Linked DNA regions of Homo sapiens: region 2 is linked to region 1. The links are contacts of gene promoters, found by promoter capture Hi-C in human tissues and cell types (Jung and others, 2019). All regions are on one chromosome and are shown on one strand. Each heading gives the region's core, a stretch centred on a gene start or on the middle of the fragment in contact. The rest is flanking DNA. Distances are from core to core; before and after follow the strand shown.

What was found. Contacts are between HindIII fragments. The study calls those that stand out against the background at their distance.
Region 2: a contact is called between a fragment that was not itself captured here and the fragment with the promoter of MDM1 in region 1, in 2 of the 25 tissues and cell types used here (lymphoblastoid cells and stomach).

What each region holds. Positions count from the first base shown.
Region 1 is chr12:68,327,524-68,335,115 of GRCh38, forward strand. It overlaps MDM1 (Mdm1 nuclear protein), which reads right to left and starts at 4,839. Exons shown (of 15, transcript NM_001354969.2): 1 at 4,705-4,839; 2 at 3,584-3,698. The coding sequence starts at 4,722. LOC105369819 (a long non-coding RNA gene) reads left to right here and starts at 5,108. Exons shown (of 3, transcript XR_945057.3): 1 at 5,108-7,592. RefSeq lists an enhancer at 4,390-4,479 and a silencer at 4,780-5,039. The HindIII fragment of the contact is 12,003 bases long and covers 1,792-7,592 here.
Region 2 is chr12:68,585,494-68,593,085 of GRCh38, forward strand. No RefSeq gene overlaps it. Among named protein-coding and RNA genes, the nearest start is that of RAP1B, 22 kb to the right of the region's middle. RefSeq lists enhancers at 2,365-2,414, 6,576-6,785. The HindIII fragment of the contact is 7,878 bases long and covers 35-7,592 here.

The DNA.
Region 1 (7,592 bases), core at 3,589-6,088:
AAGAATAAGCCCTTTTAACAACAGCTAAGATACAATTTCTCTATATTTCTGTATGGAAAGCAAATGTCCAAAAACTTAACCTTCTATGAAGGTAAGAGCAGCTCTGCAGAATGACAGCCACTGAGAGACTGCCCTAGTTTAGGGCCATTCTTTAAGACAGTTGCAGGGTGCAGAAGGAAGATTAAGACCAGAATGGAAAGGGAAGGTGGAAAGAAAATTGGGCATGAGGTAAAACCCAGGGCTCCTTAGCCTCTGTTGTAGATGTCTTGGCCATGTCACCCCGGGTCCTTATCCTTTTAAAAGGCTTCCCTAGACCACAGGTCTTCTCACTGGGTGGATATCTGTCTGGAGGCACACAAAGATGTTTTAGGAGGGTAAACAGAAGTGGGCAGCTTAAGGGAATCATTTTCCAGATCCTCAACTCCACATGTGCTCTCTTGCCTGATGCTGATATATCTGCCTGAGAGCTGCATCTGCCATCTGCAGTTCCATTTCCCACCGCCCCTTTCATAATCTCCTTTTTCCCACTTTAGAGAAGAAAGACACACCTCTTAACCAGCCTGAAACTTACTCCAGTGCGTCCGCCCAAGGTAGAACAAAACCTCAGGGGTAGGGAGCCAAACAAAGGGACAATTCAAGAAAGCATATCCCTGAGGGAGAATATTTGACAGCAAAACAAAGCAGGCAGAGATTAGAAATAACAAAGCAACAGCATCTTATTTCATATAGCTCCATGGATTTTCCATCTACCTTCTCAGTATTAAAATTCAGATATGAGAGGGATGTCATGTGAAATGTACATATGCATATAACACATTTACCTTAATTAAAGATAAACAGACTTTCTCACAGAAAATAATTCTAATTTGGCCGGTTAGTTTGCCAATGAATACTGACTTTGCCAATTGTATGATAAACATTTTCCAAAAATTGAATGGGCTAAATTGGCAACTCCAGAGTTTTTACAAAATATATGTAAAATATATAAGCACTATGCAATATACCAGAAATTCTATCATTCAAAACTATTCATAAAAATTTATTATAAAAAATAGCAATTTAGAAATGTGTGACGAAGCACAATGTTTTTCTAAATTTTTCTAGGAAGTATAAAAGCAAAAAAGCTTGAAGATCACCAATTAGACTCCTCTCTGCTTTAACACAGAGGCAGGTTTTTGGTAGAAGCACAAAATGAAAGAAGATTCTCAAGTGGTCTGCCGCTGTCTCCCAGCACCAGCAAATCCCCAGGGTAAAAATACACTACTCTAAAAGAAGGGACAGCCATCCTCGGTAACACTGCTGTTGTTTTTTGCTAACCTCCCACCTCCCATTCTGAGCATTCTGGAATTCTTGCTCAGTCCCTCCCCATGACCTAAAATTCCCCACTAACGTTCCTCCCCTAGTCCATTCCTTCCTTCATTATATACCATGCTCTAAGGTGGCTTTGCTCTCATGGTCTCATTTCATCACCTTCCCCTCAAATGCAGCTGATCTAAGCTGAAATGTTATTGGACAACTACCCAGTTTAATGAATTTTCCAGTGTCATAATAGCCCTGTAGGCGCTCAGCAGGGTGGGATATCTATGCTTAAACAGAGATTTATTTGGATTCTTAATCTAATGGAGGTTCAAATATGTGGAATTTCTGGTCATTTGTAAAAAGAGGATTATGAGCAGAGGGATTTTCCTAGCACCCTGCCGGAGAAGCAGGGACACCCAGTCTCTGAAGTTTGCCGCTGGGTCAGATCATGATGCTTCAGAGGAACTCTAAAAGAGACACTCACTCTTGCCCACTCTTCCCTTTGTTCTCTAGACCAAATTCTGAAAATACCTCGTCGTCTTACTAACTTTCCAGGCTTGGTACCCTACCCATAAGTCTTTTCCTGGCTTCAAACATCTAACATTTATGTGACTTACATGCCATGCTCGCACACATCACATGTGGGACACTAAGCACTGATCTGTGTACTCAAACCAGGCCCTTAATAGGCAACATCTCATTTAAACCCTCCCAGTAATCCTATGCAACAGACTTCCTAAAATCTCACTTGGTGAAACTAGCTCAATTTGCCCAACATCACACAGCTATTATAATTCAAATTTAGGCTAATTCATTCATTCAAAAAATAGTTTCAAGAAGCAATAGAATGTTCCAAGGCCTGTGTTAGGTACTGGGTGGTGAATAAGACAGAGCCCTACTCTCAGAGATCTAATATACTAGTAAGGAAGAATTAAATAAGCAGGTATAATGAGGTCAGTCTGTCTCCCTTCTGTTCTATCACCCTCCGGGAAACTCTGGCCCAGGACTCTGCCTTCCCTGGGACACAGGGAGGAGGCATGTGTGATAACAAGAACATGACCTCTGAAATTACATGCTTTGCACAAAACAGACTTGATTTCAAATCATGGTTCTGCCACTTACTAGCTGTAAAGCTGGGGCAGCGACCTCATCTCCCTAAGCTTCCATTTCTCAAGACCTTGGGAGCACTCTTCCCCAGCATTGTCCCCTCAGCTTTCAGGTCTCAGCTCAAATATCACCTCCTCAAAAAGAGCCTTTCCCAACCATCTAATCTAAAGCATTTTCCCTCCAATCCACTCCTCCCGCATGTTATGTATCACACTTCCCTACAATTTTATATAAAAACCTGAAATTCCCTTAATTATTGAGTGACTTGCTTACTGTTTCTCTCCACAGTTAAGGGACTTTGGTTCAGGGCTATATCCCTAGTGTTCCCAGACCAAACTGAGGGTCAGGCTGCTATTTCTCTCGGCCAATAACGAGATGCAGATAAACTAGGGAGAAAGAGAGTTTTTATTTCTATAACCAGTTACGGGAAGAAGGCCTGCAAATTATCACCAGACGAACCCCAAATTACAAAGTTTTTCAGAGCTTATATACCTTCTAAGCTATATGTCTACGTGTAAGTGTGCATTCATCTAAGGATATAAGTGATTAACTTCTTTTAATCTATAACTAAGGTCTGAGTCCTGAAGACCTTCTTCTGGAGCATCAGTAAATTTACTTAATCTAAATGGGTCTAGGTGCTGGGCTGATTACCCTTATCTTGTCTCCTGCTGAATCATGGAGGTTTGAGGAGTTCCTTCAGACCGCCAATAAATTTGTGGAGGCCTGGGGAGTTTCTTCAGACCCCCAGTAAAACTTGTTTAATCCTAAACGGATCCTGTTAAGAATTCCTTATTTTGTCATGCTTTATGGCCCAGGAAAGGCCTAGGCAATACTCTTGATGGGCTTTTGTGACATCCCAGCCTTTGTGTAAGGGCACTGGCTTTTTTTAGCTTTCAATATTTAACTTAACCGCTCAGTCAGTACCGAAACAGTTGTGATGGAGGCCTCCATTAGTGAAACCTGGCCTGCCACACTAGCTGCTGGGAATAGTCCTGGCTCATAGTAAACCTTCAATAAATACTTGATTAATAAATGAATAAATCAACCAGGCCAACTGAACTTTTAATATATCATTTGGTAAACTTAGCCCAAGGTTTACTTAGCCCAAGTTATAACGGCTTGGCCCAAGTTATAAACTTAGCCCAGGTTAGAATGGCTATTAGCCTGCTCAACTTACCTAATTGATCTGATCTAAGTCCAGCCCATGGGTACTTTCGCCCCACGGAGGAATTACAAGACTCGGACAAATAAGACTTTTTCCACAGGAAGTTCCTCTGGTATTCACTCAGCCCCTGTAATGCAAAGTACACTTTTGAGTACAGTCCAATTAATGAATGATGTTTTAAAGCAGACATCGGTGAAAAATAATTTCTGAACCTCCCAAAAGAGACTTAAGACTGAAAATTAAACACAGACGAGCTCCTTAATAAGAGCTAATATTCACCCAGCCCTGTGCTAAGCAGTTCACACGTGTTATATCCTTTAATCCACAACACCACTTGAGGCAGATGCTACCAGGAATTCCAGGCTCAGAGGTTACCCTTTCACTGATTATCTGATTCCAAAGCATGAGTTCTTGTCGGATAACTAATGACAATCTAAATTCTCATCATTCTAGATTTATCGCAGGTTTTCACCGAGTACACAATATTATGTACCATGCCTAGGACCTTTTGCTATTTGATAAAGTCAACAAAAGGCAAACTCCCCTTCCATTCTGAATACACGCCTTTAAGATAAATGAGTCAGGAGATGTGGGACGCTGTGGCCACCTGTGAAGTTGCAGGGTGCTAGTCCCTGACAGCTACCAGCTACCTGGAACTTTTAACATACGCTAAGAATGCACAACGATGAAAAACGTGTATTTCTTTATACGCTGTCTTTACTAAGAACCCATTTCTCAAGCCTTTAAAAGCCACATACACTAAAGTTTTAAAGGTAATGGGGGTTAAATGCTAAGCTAAATGGGCCACAGGTGTCCCAATCTGAAGTCGCCTTTAGTTCTCTTCGCAAAGGGACCTCCTCCCATCTCCACTCCTCTTGAGTCCCCCTAAGTAAATGTGTCTCGCACCATCTGACTCTTCGACACACTGCAGCTTGCAAATGTGAGTGAGCGGAGAGGGAACTAGGTTAAGAGGCGGCGGGCAGATTCTGGGGCCCCTCGAGCAGGCCCTGGGGCTGGCAGCTTCCGCCGGGCAGAGGGCTGCAGCGCAGAAAAGCAGCGTGACCTCGGCGCTCCACACCTCCCCGGCCATGGCTCCCCCCAGCCACATTCCGGCCCGGGGACCCCAGCCTCACCTTGAAGCGCACCGGCATGTCGCCCGGCGCCGGAGCCCCCGCTACTCCGACAGTTAACTGGAGAAAAAGCTCCGAGGGGGCGGGGCGATAACAGTGTTCCCTAGCAAAGCCTCGGCCCGGCGTCCCCGACTACGCGCCGGCGCACTCCGCGCTTCCCGCCTAGAGGCCTGTCGGTCTGTTTTTCCCCGCCCTTTTTGGAGCCTAGGGACCAATAGAGACTCGCAGAGTGCCTTACCTCCATTAGGATTTGACCAATGAGTGGCCGAAAGGGAGCCGCCTACCTCCCTTGCCAAATCCCTGGGGCTGATAGAGATGGCGGGCGGAAGGCCGGCCAATAAGGCTCCCGGAACCGGGCTGGGCGGGACCCCGGGGGTGCCTTCCTGGGTTGGGTGGACCGGTCCCTGGTTCGCCGGGTCCTGCGCAGCAATGCGTCTGCTTGCTGGTGGAATTCGCCAGCCGCCAGCCTCGCTGGCCCAGGTGCTTGACAGCATCAAAGGTCAAAGTGTGTTCTTCATGCTAACATCTATGAGAAAACCGAACGCTTCTTTTTCTGAAAGTGCTCAGATTTATTCTGCTGAATATCGGTTCGTACAAACGACAGCCGCATTACAGTTTATTGTCACATCAAAAGGGAAAGGCCAAAAAAATATATAACTTAGGCAAGATTTTTGAAACTTTATTGAAACTCGAAAGACAAACTGCTGTCTCTTCCTCCAGTGATGTTCTTCCTCCTTCAATCTCTACCTTCCCCAAAATGATGTACATACAGCCCTTAGATGAGAAAACGTTTATTGAAGATGGTTGTCTCAACTTCCAAACCTTCAGCCTTGTCTCTCCGCTCAACCTTTTTTTAAAAATAAAACTTCATCTGATTTTAATCGACTATTGCCATCATCGTCGATAAATGTTTCTTGACAGAATACTGCTGATTCTGAGAATTGGGAAAGAAAGAAATTGTCCAGATAGTTCTCTGATATACTTGGGAAGGACATACATCTTTATTTATTTATTTATTCATTATTTATTCAATAATGGTGTAATGTGACATGTGCTAAATTTCTAAATGAAAGGTGTCAATAATAAGGGCTACAGGATCTGGGAGCAGGGAGTCATTTCGGACGGCAGAAGATGCGTCAGGAGGAAATATTCAGACTGAAAGGACTGCAATAAGTAAAAAGTGGGACGATGAAAGGGCAGATGTCTGAATGGAATGCTGCCAGGCTTCTTCCAGGAACAACAAATGAGTGCCTTTTACATTTGTCATGTGTTGACTGAATAAAAGTATACCACTCTTAAACTTTCAAATATCAACACCAATCCTTGATGCTTCCCTTTAAGCATTTTCCGCAAAAGCTGTCTTCCTGAATCCTGATTGATGTCTTTGTTCTTCATCATCATCGAGATACTTAAAAATCATTTGAAGAAGCCACCTGATATCTGGAACAAAGAGCATATTAAATTAGTCCCAATGCAGCCATGCATCCAGGGGGCCCTTGATTAATGTTAATTGGTGATGACAGCATCTCTGTCGTGTAAATTAAGAATGGCACAAACAAGACACAGTGGAACATAGAACAAAAGTCATCTGCAGGAAGGCAGCCCATCTTACAGAGTAAGAAAGGCACAACTTTGGTTGTGCACACAGCTTTGTTACCACAAAATGCTAAGGTGAGATCAGCAAAAGCAAGTGTGTAGAATGTAGCCTGCCTGCTAAACAAGCGCAATGATCACTGCAGAAGAGCTCTGCTGAGCAGGGAGTAAATGACAGGAAAACCAAACAGCAGATTGTAAAAATAACTCAGTCACATCCCAGGCTTGCTAGAGAAGTATCATAAAGACTTAAGGAAGAAGATTTTACTTTGCTATTGTTAAACAAAAGCCTACCCAAGTTTAAGAGGCAAAGATATAGGAATGGGAAAAAAAAAAGTGACTACCTTAGTAAATGAGTTTTGTAGCCTGTGTTTTACCAGCTCTTATCTTCTCTGCTACTGCAGGAAACAGTACCCAGTACCCTACAAAGCTCCACCCATGTTTTGGGGAGTCCCTAGGAGGTATTTCACATGTGCTCGCAGCAACCACATAGCGTATGCCGGGCAGCACTGCCCCTTGTTCCAATAGCCATGCATCTGTAGGTGTCACTCTTGCTGCTGGCTATCACAGCCACTTTAGCTTGGTACTGAGTCTTCACTGGGCACAGCAACTGGGTACAGCCACTCCTCAAACTGCCTGGCATTGGTGGTAATCTATGGCAAAGCACCTCTCCTTTTTGCGTTACCCTCTTTGAAGTGAGTAACACTATGTCTTAGAGAGCCTTCTTTTCATTTGTGTTTTAGCCTTTCTCATCGCCAAAGGGCTCAAAATGAAGTCCGTGGAGTCTAAGCCAAAAAGTAATTCCTCAAGTGACAGATCTCATGCTATGCTTCTCTCTTCCACTAGCTAAGGCCCTCTTACTGGGACAGTGGTATCACACCTGGCTCACTCTTCCCTTTGTTGATTTCTCTATTTCTCATAGGAATAGATTTCTGTCTATTGCTCGTGAGAGACTGAATTTGCACAACCTATATGAAGGGCATTTTGGCAATTTGATCCAGGAGTTCCTCTTCTATAAATTTATCTTACAGATAGACTCACACATATGTGAAAAAAAATATTCATTTAAAGTTGTTTAATGTACTGTTTCTAGTTACAAAAGGTTGAAAACTACCTAAATGTCCATTTAGAGAGAACTAGTCAAATACATTACGGTTCATCCAAATTCAAAGAGTAGCGCAGGTTGTTCTGCTCCTTTGGGCCTTCTGATCCTGCATGGATATGTTAGGTCCAGCTAGGAAAACAGACCCTACACAAGGCATTTCAACAAAGAGAACTTAATATAAGCTATTGGTTCA
Region 2 (7,592 bases), core at 2,724-5,223, 260 kb after region 1:
GGCTGGTTTTGAACTCCCAGGCTCTAGCAATCCTCCCACCTTAGCCTCCCTAAGTGCTGGGATTACAGCCTCACTTCCCTATAGGCTTTAGAGCTAATGCCCCTGTTTTAATTCCCTAATCCAAAAATACCAAATACAGTTCATCTCCTGTTAATTCCAACCGATTGGTAGTGGGCCCTAGAATGGTGAGCTGATAAGGATTCTGAGGCCATGCATGGGCTCAGTGGTAAAGATTGCTGGGGCCAGGAGCCGTGGCCCATGCCTGTAATCCCAGCACTTTGGGTGGCTGAGGCGGCTGGATCACCTGACGTCAGGAGTTCCAGACCAGCCTGGCCAACATGGTGAAATCCCATCCTTACTAAAAATACAAAAATTAGCTGGCATGGTGGCAGGTGCCTGTAATCCCAGCTACTTGGGAGGCTGAGGCAGGAGAATTGCTTAAACCTGGGAGGCGGAGGTTGCAGTGAGCAGAGGTCACGCCACTGTACTCCAGCATGGATGACAAGAGCGAAACTCTGTCTCAAAAGAAAAAAAAAAGAGTGCTGGAATGGATGAGTGGTGGTCCTCTGGGCATAGACATGTCTGCTATACATTTGTCATTTCTGACCTCATAGGAAGTGCTTGCAATGGTAGGAATCTCCCAGACAGGCAGAAGAAAAGGATCTACCATAGCAGTCCCCTATGACCGATGCAGTAAAGGAAGTCAGACTATGTGGCATTCTGCAAATTGTGTAATTTAAGAAGCTTTAAACTCTACCATGTGCAGAGATAGTTAAGGCCAAAAACGCTATACAGCGTATACAATGTTCTTATGAGGGTTTTTCATTGTTGCTGTTTTTTGAGATGGAGTCTTTTGCTCTTATTGCCCAGGCTAGAGTGCAATGGTGAGGTCTTGGCTCACTGCAACCTCTGCCTCCCGGGTTCAAACGATTCTCCTGCCTCAGCCTCCTGAGTAGCTGGGATTACAGGCATGCACCACCACGCCAAGCTAATTTTTTTTTATTTTCAGTAGAGATGGGGTTGCATCATGTTGGTCAGGCTGGTCTCGAACTCCTGACCTCAGGTGATCCACCCACCTCGGCCTCCCAAAGTGCTGGGATTACAGGAGTGAGCCACCATGCCTGGCCGAGGTTTCAACTCACTTATATTACCTAAAAAGTACTGTTCTATTTTTATATTATTTCATTGTTTTGTTCAAAAGTAAAGGTTGGAGCTATATCTTTTGTTCCTAGTTATAAATTGGCTAATTACTTACTGTCTTCTTTTCTCTGTAGAGTCCCAACTAGACACATTATTTTAAATTTCCCTTTCTAAAAACAATGTTATCTAATGTCATCACCTAGCTACTACATACCACCAAGCTGAAAATACCAGAAGAATTGAAAAGCAGCTGGGTGCAGTGGCTCATGCCTGTAATCCCAGCACTTTGGGAGGCGGAGGCGGGTGGATCACAAGGTCAGGAGATTGAGACCATCCTGGCTAACACGGTGAAACCCCGTCTCTACTAAAAAATACAAAAAATTAGCTGGGCGTGGTGGGGGGCGCCTGTAGTCCCAGCTACTCGGGAGGATGAGGCAGGAGAATGGCGTGAACCAGAAGGCGGAGCTTGCAGTGAGCCGAGATCACACCACTGCACTCCAGCCTGGGAAACAGTGAGACTCCGTCTCAAAAAAAAAAAAAAAAAAAAAAAAAAAAAACAAACAAACAAAAAAAAAACCACAAAGAATTGAAAAGCAATCTTGATTTACCATGTAGTTACAGAAATATTAAATATTTGAGAAACAAATGACATCATTTCTTGAGAAAATTAGGGTATAAAAAAGTGCTCTATTTTACAGAACTGATGTGTTTCCAAGCAAGACCAGGAGCTACATTTTCATAAAAAGACATAAAATTTGCATTTGTTTTCTATTTAGTTTGCAGTGGTGCTGGAGAGACCACTGAAAATGGCAGAACAGCTACTATTGCCAATGTTCTTGTGGCCACTGCTGAGAATTTTGTCCTTGTCGTTAAAGAGGAAGCTGCTTCCAAGACTGTTCTCTAGAGCTTGACTAAGTAACCACTGTCAGTGTATTAAAACCACATTACCAGCACAGGGGAGCTCCCTGCCTCCACTGTCAGAGCTACCACAGTCACCATGTGCTATAGTTTGGATCTGTGTCCCTGCCCACATTTCATGTCAAATTTTAATCCCCAGTGTTGGAGATGGAGCCTGGTGGGAGGTGATTGGATCACTGAGATGGTCCTTCTTGAATGGTTAGCACCATCCCTTTGGTGCTGTTCTCATGATAGAGTTCTCGTGAGATCTGGCTGTTTAAAAGTGTGTGGCACCTCCCCTCTCTCGCTCTTGGTCCTGCACCTGCCATGTAAGATGCCTGCTCCCACTTTGCCCTCTGGCACCATGATTGTAAGTTTCTTGAGGCCTCCCCAGAAGGAGATGCTTCATTGCTTCCTGTATAGCCTGTGGGACCATGAGCCAATTAAACCTCTTTTCATTACAAATTAACCAGTCTCAGGTATTTCTTTTTTTTTTCTTTTTTTTTTTTTTTTTTGAGACGGAGTCTCACTCTTGTCCCCCAGGCTGGAATGCAGTGGCGCAATCTCAGCTCACTGCAACCTACCCCTCCCAGGTTCAAGTGATTCTCCTGCCTCAGTCTCCCAAGTAGCTAGGATTACAGGTGCCTGCCACCACACCCAGCTAATTTTTGTATTTTTAGTAGAGATGGGGTTTTACCATGTTGGCCAGGCTAGTCTTGAAGTCCTGACCTCAGGTGATCCACCCACCTTGGCCTCCCAAAGTGCTGGGATTACAGGCGTGAGCCACCACACCCGGCTTTTTTTTTTTTTCTTTTTTTTTTAGGCATAGTTTCACTCTTGTCATCCAGGCTGGAGTGCAATGGTGTGATCATGGCTCACTCCAACATCTGCCTCCCAGGTTCAAGTGATTCTCCTACCTCAACCTCCCAAGTAGCTAGGATTACAGGCATGCACCATCATGCCCAGCTAATTTTTGTATTTTTAGTAGAGACGGGGTTTTGCCATGTTGGCCAGGCTGGTCTTGAACTCTTGACCTCAGGTGATCCACCCACCTTAGCCTCTCAAAGTGCTGGGATTACAGGCATGAGCCACTGTGCCCAGCTCAAGTATTTTTTTTTTAAAGCCTCACTTTGTTACCAGGCTGGAGTGCAGTGGTGCCATCTCAACTCACTGGAGCCTCCACCTCCCGGGTTCAAGTGATTCTCCTGCCTCAGCCTCCCAGGTAGTTAGGACTACAGGTGCATGCCACCATGTCCAGCTAATTTTTGTATTTTTAGTAAAGATGGGGTTTCACCATGTTGACCAGGATGGTCTCGATCTCTTGACCTCATGATCCACCCGCCTCAGCCTCCCAAAGTGCTGGGATTACAGGCGTGAGCCACCATGCCTGGCCCAGCTCAAGGATTTCCTTATAGCAATGTGAGAATGGACTAATACAGAAAAGTGGTACTGAGGAGTAGGGCATTGCTATAAAGATAACTAAAAATGTGGAAATGGCTTTGGGACTGGGTAATGGGAAGAGGTTGGAAGAGTGTGGAGGGCTCAGAAGAAGACAGGGAGGTGAGGGAAAGTTTGGAACTTACTAGAGACTTGTTGAATGATTGTGACCAAAATGCTGATGGTGATATGAACAGAGATGGCCAAGCTGATGAGTTCATGAGTTCTCAGATGGAGATGAGGAACTTATTGGGAACTGGGGCAAAGGTCACTTTTGTTACACCGTGGCAAAGAGCTTGGTTGGATTGTGCCCCCGTCTAGGGATCTGTGGAACATTGAACTTGAGAGTGATGACTTAGAGTATCAGACAGAAGAAATTCCTAAGAAGCAAAGTGTTCAAGATATGGCCTGGCTGCTTCTAACAACCTATGCTCATGTGCATAAGCAAAGAAATGACATAAACTCAAAGTTACATTTCAAAGCAAGGCAGAGCATAAAAGTTTGAAAAATTTGCCTCTGAGCCATGTGGTAGAAAAGAAAAGCCCATTTTCAGGGGAAGAATTCAAGCCAGCTGCAGAAATTTACATAAGTAAAAAGAAGCCAAGGCCGGGCACAGTGACTCACACCTGTAATCCCAGCACTTTGGGAGGCTGAGGTGGGCAGATCACATGGTCAGGAGTTTGAGACCGGTCTGGCCAGCATGGTGAAACCCCGTCTCTACTAAAAATACAAAAAATTAGCTGGGTGTGGTGGCACATGCCTGTAGTCCCAAGCTACTTAGGAGGCTGAGGCAAGAGAATTGCTTGAACCTGGGAGACGGAGGTTGCAGTGAGCTGGGATTGTGCCACTGCACTCCAGCCTGGGTAACAGAGCGAGAGAGACCTTCACTGTAGCCCCTCCCATCACAGTCCCAGAGGCCTAGGAAGGAAGAATGGTTTCCATGGGCCAGGTCCAGTGCCCTGCTGCCCTGAGCAGCCTCACAGCCTCGGGACACTGCTTCCTGCATCCTGGCTGCTCCGGCTCCCACAGTGGCTAACAGGGAACCAGGTTAAGCTCACACTGCTGCTTCAGAGGGTGCAAGCCGTAAGTCTTGGTGGATTCCACATGGTGTTAAGCCTGCAGGTATACAGAATGCAAGAGTTGAGGCTTGGGAGCCTCTGCCTAGATTCCAGAGGATGTATGGAAAAGCCTGCATGTCCAGGCAGAAGCTTGCTGCAGGGGTGGACCCCTCATAGAGAACCTCTGCTAGGGAAGTGTGGAGGGAAAATGTGGTGTTGGACCTCACACACAGAGTTCCCATTGGGGCACTGCCTCACGGAGCTGTGAGAAGTGGACTGCCATCCTCCAGACCACAGAATGGTGGATCCACCAGCAGCTTGCACTGTGCACCTGGAAAAACAAGGCACCCAATGCCAACTCGTGAGTGCAGCCATGGGGGCTGAACTTTCTATTTTAAGTAGAGACGGGTCTTCACCATGTTGGCCAGGCTGGTCTCGAAGTCCTGACCTTGGGTGATCCACCCACCTCGGCCTCTCAAAGTACTGGCATCACAGGCATGAGCCACTGGCTCAGGTATTACTTTATAAAAACGTGAAAATGGACTAATATAGAAAAGTGGTACTGAGGAGTAGGGCACAAAGCCTTGGGCATAGCTGTCAAGGCTTTAGCAGCCCACCCCTTGTACCACTGTGCTCTTCATGTGAGACATGGAGTCAAAAGAGATTATTTTGGAGCTTTAAGATTTAATGACTGCCCTGTTGCGTTTTGGGCTTGCCTGGTGCCTGTAGCCCCTTTCTTTTGACTGATTTATCCCTTTTGGAATGGGAGTATTTACCCAATACCTATATCTGCATTGTATCTTGAAGGTAACTAACTTGTTTTTTATTTTACAGTTTCATAGGCAGAAGGGACTTGCCTTGTCTCAGATGAAACTTTGGACTTTTGAGTTAATGCTGAAATGAGTTAAAATTAGGGGACTGTTGGGAAGGCATGATTATATTTTGCAATATGAGAAGGACATGAGATTTGGGAATGGCCAGGGGTGGAATGATATGGTTTGACTCTGCATCCATATCCACAGGCAAGTCTCATGTCAAATTGTAATCCCCAGTGTTGGAGGTGGAGCCTGGTGGGAGGTGGCTGGACCATGGAGATGGTCCTTCCTGAATGGTTTAGCACCATACTTTTGGTGCTGTTCTCATGATAGAGTTCTCATGAGATCTGGCTGTTTACAAGTTTGGGGCACCTCCTCTCTTTCTCTCTCTCTCTCTCTTGTTGCTGCTCTTATCATGTAAGATGCCTGCTCCCACTTTGCCTTCTGCCATGATTGTAAGTTTCTTGAGGCTTCCCCAGAAGCAGATGCTGCCATGCTTCCTGTACAGCCTGTGGAACCATGAGCCAATTAAACCTCTTTTCTTTATGGATTCCCCAGTCTCAGGTATTTCCTTTATAGCAATGTGAGAGCAAACTAATCACCATGTCACCTGAGATGTCACCCGTATAGCCACTAGAGGAGCCAAGGCCAGCACAAGAAAACTTGGAAAGTAGAAAAATGTGTCTTCACTACTGACCTGTATTATCTAAAAAAAAGACTAATTTCTGTGAGAGTGGAAACCATGTCATTCTTACTCACTGTTGCATCCTTAATTTGGATATGTATAGTATATGCAAGAATGCAAGAGTTGGGATTACAATTTGACATGAGATTTGGTCATGTATGTGTATTGCACGAATGCAAGAGTTGAGGCTTCGAAGTCTCATAGTACATAGCAGGTACTCAAGAAACCATTGTTGAATGTGTAGATGATAGATGCATAGCTGGATAGCTAGATACGTAAACAAATGGATGTTGTTCCCTCCACGTGCCTTATGTTAACATGTTGGCGTAAAACAAACAACAAACCTCCAGATGGCTGCATTCAAGGGGAACATCTGATAGTTTGACACAGGAAGTAACTATCAAGTGAATGAAATTTTTTTTTTTAGTAACAGGAGAAGCCTTTTTGATGTGGCGCTCAACCTGAAAGTTGTTTTCTTCCTGTCAGGGTTAGGGTAGTATGGCACTTTGAAGACAGAGAAAATAAATTCCTGGGTATTAGCTGGCAGCTCTAGAAATCAGCACTGGTGAATTTTCCTTGGAGAATGGTTTCTCACATTTCAGTAAAATTTGGATCTGCCCAGTATCAAATAGAAAGGGAATAGCTAGACCTATACAAACACAGTTCATAAAGAATCTCAACCTAAAGTCTCAGGGTAGAGATGAGGGGTTGAACCACAGGGTTCAGCCCCCGCAGCTGCTCTCATAGGTTGGCACTGGGTGCCTGTGGCTTTTCCAGATGCATTTTTTTTAAATATCAGTAAACACTGGAACCTAAAGTCTCATTATGAAATCACGTTAGACTCCATTGTCTATACATGATTTAGCAACCCTGATAAAGTTAGTACTCTAGGATGGATAAGTGAGATGGGAGATGGGGTGGAACTGGGTATAAAACATTTTGAAGCAAAAACAAAGTTTCAGCAAATAGTGTTGAACTAAAAGAGTTCTTTCATAAGTGTTTTTAGCTATAGTTTTTACTGGTATGTCAGACTGAAATATAGGACAGAAGCAGCTTTCTTGAGGTATAATTTACATACCATAAAATTCACCTGTTAAGTGTACACCTCAGTGATTTTAGTAAGTTTATGCAGTTGTGCAACCACCACTACAATCCAATTTTCAAACATTTCTATTACCCCCAAAATTTCTCTTGCACACATTTGCAGTCAATTCCCAGTCTCATCCTAAGCCCCAGGGAATTACTATTCTGCTTTTTGTCTCTGTGGATTTAAATTTTCTAGAAATTTCACATAAATAGAATCATGCAAGATATAGTCTTTTGTGTCTGTCTCCTTTTGTTTCTCATACTGTTTTTGAAGTTCACCTGTGTGAACAAACTACTGATGTGTGTGTATATATACATATGTATATAGATGTGTGTGTATATATATAGATGTGTGTATATACATATATATATAGATGTGTGTATATACATATATAAACAGCTTTTTTTTTGTTGTTGTTGTTTTTAAGACGGAGTTTTCTCTTGTTGCCCAGGCTGGAGTGCAATGGCACGATC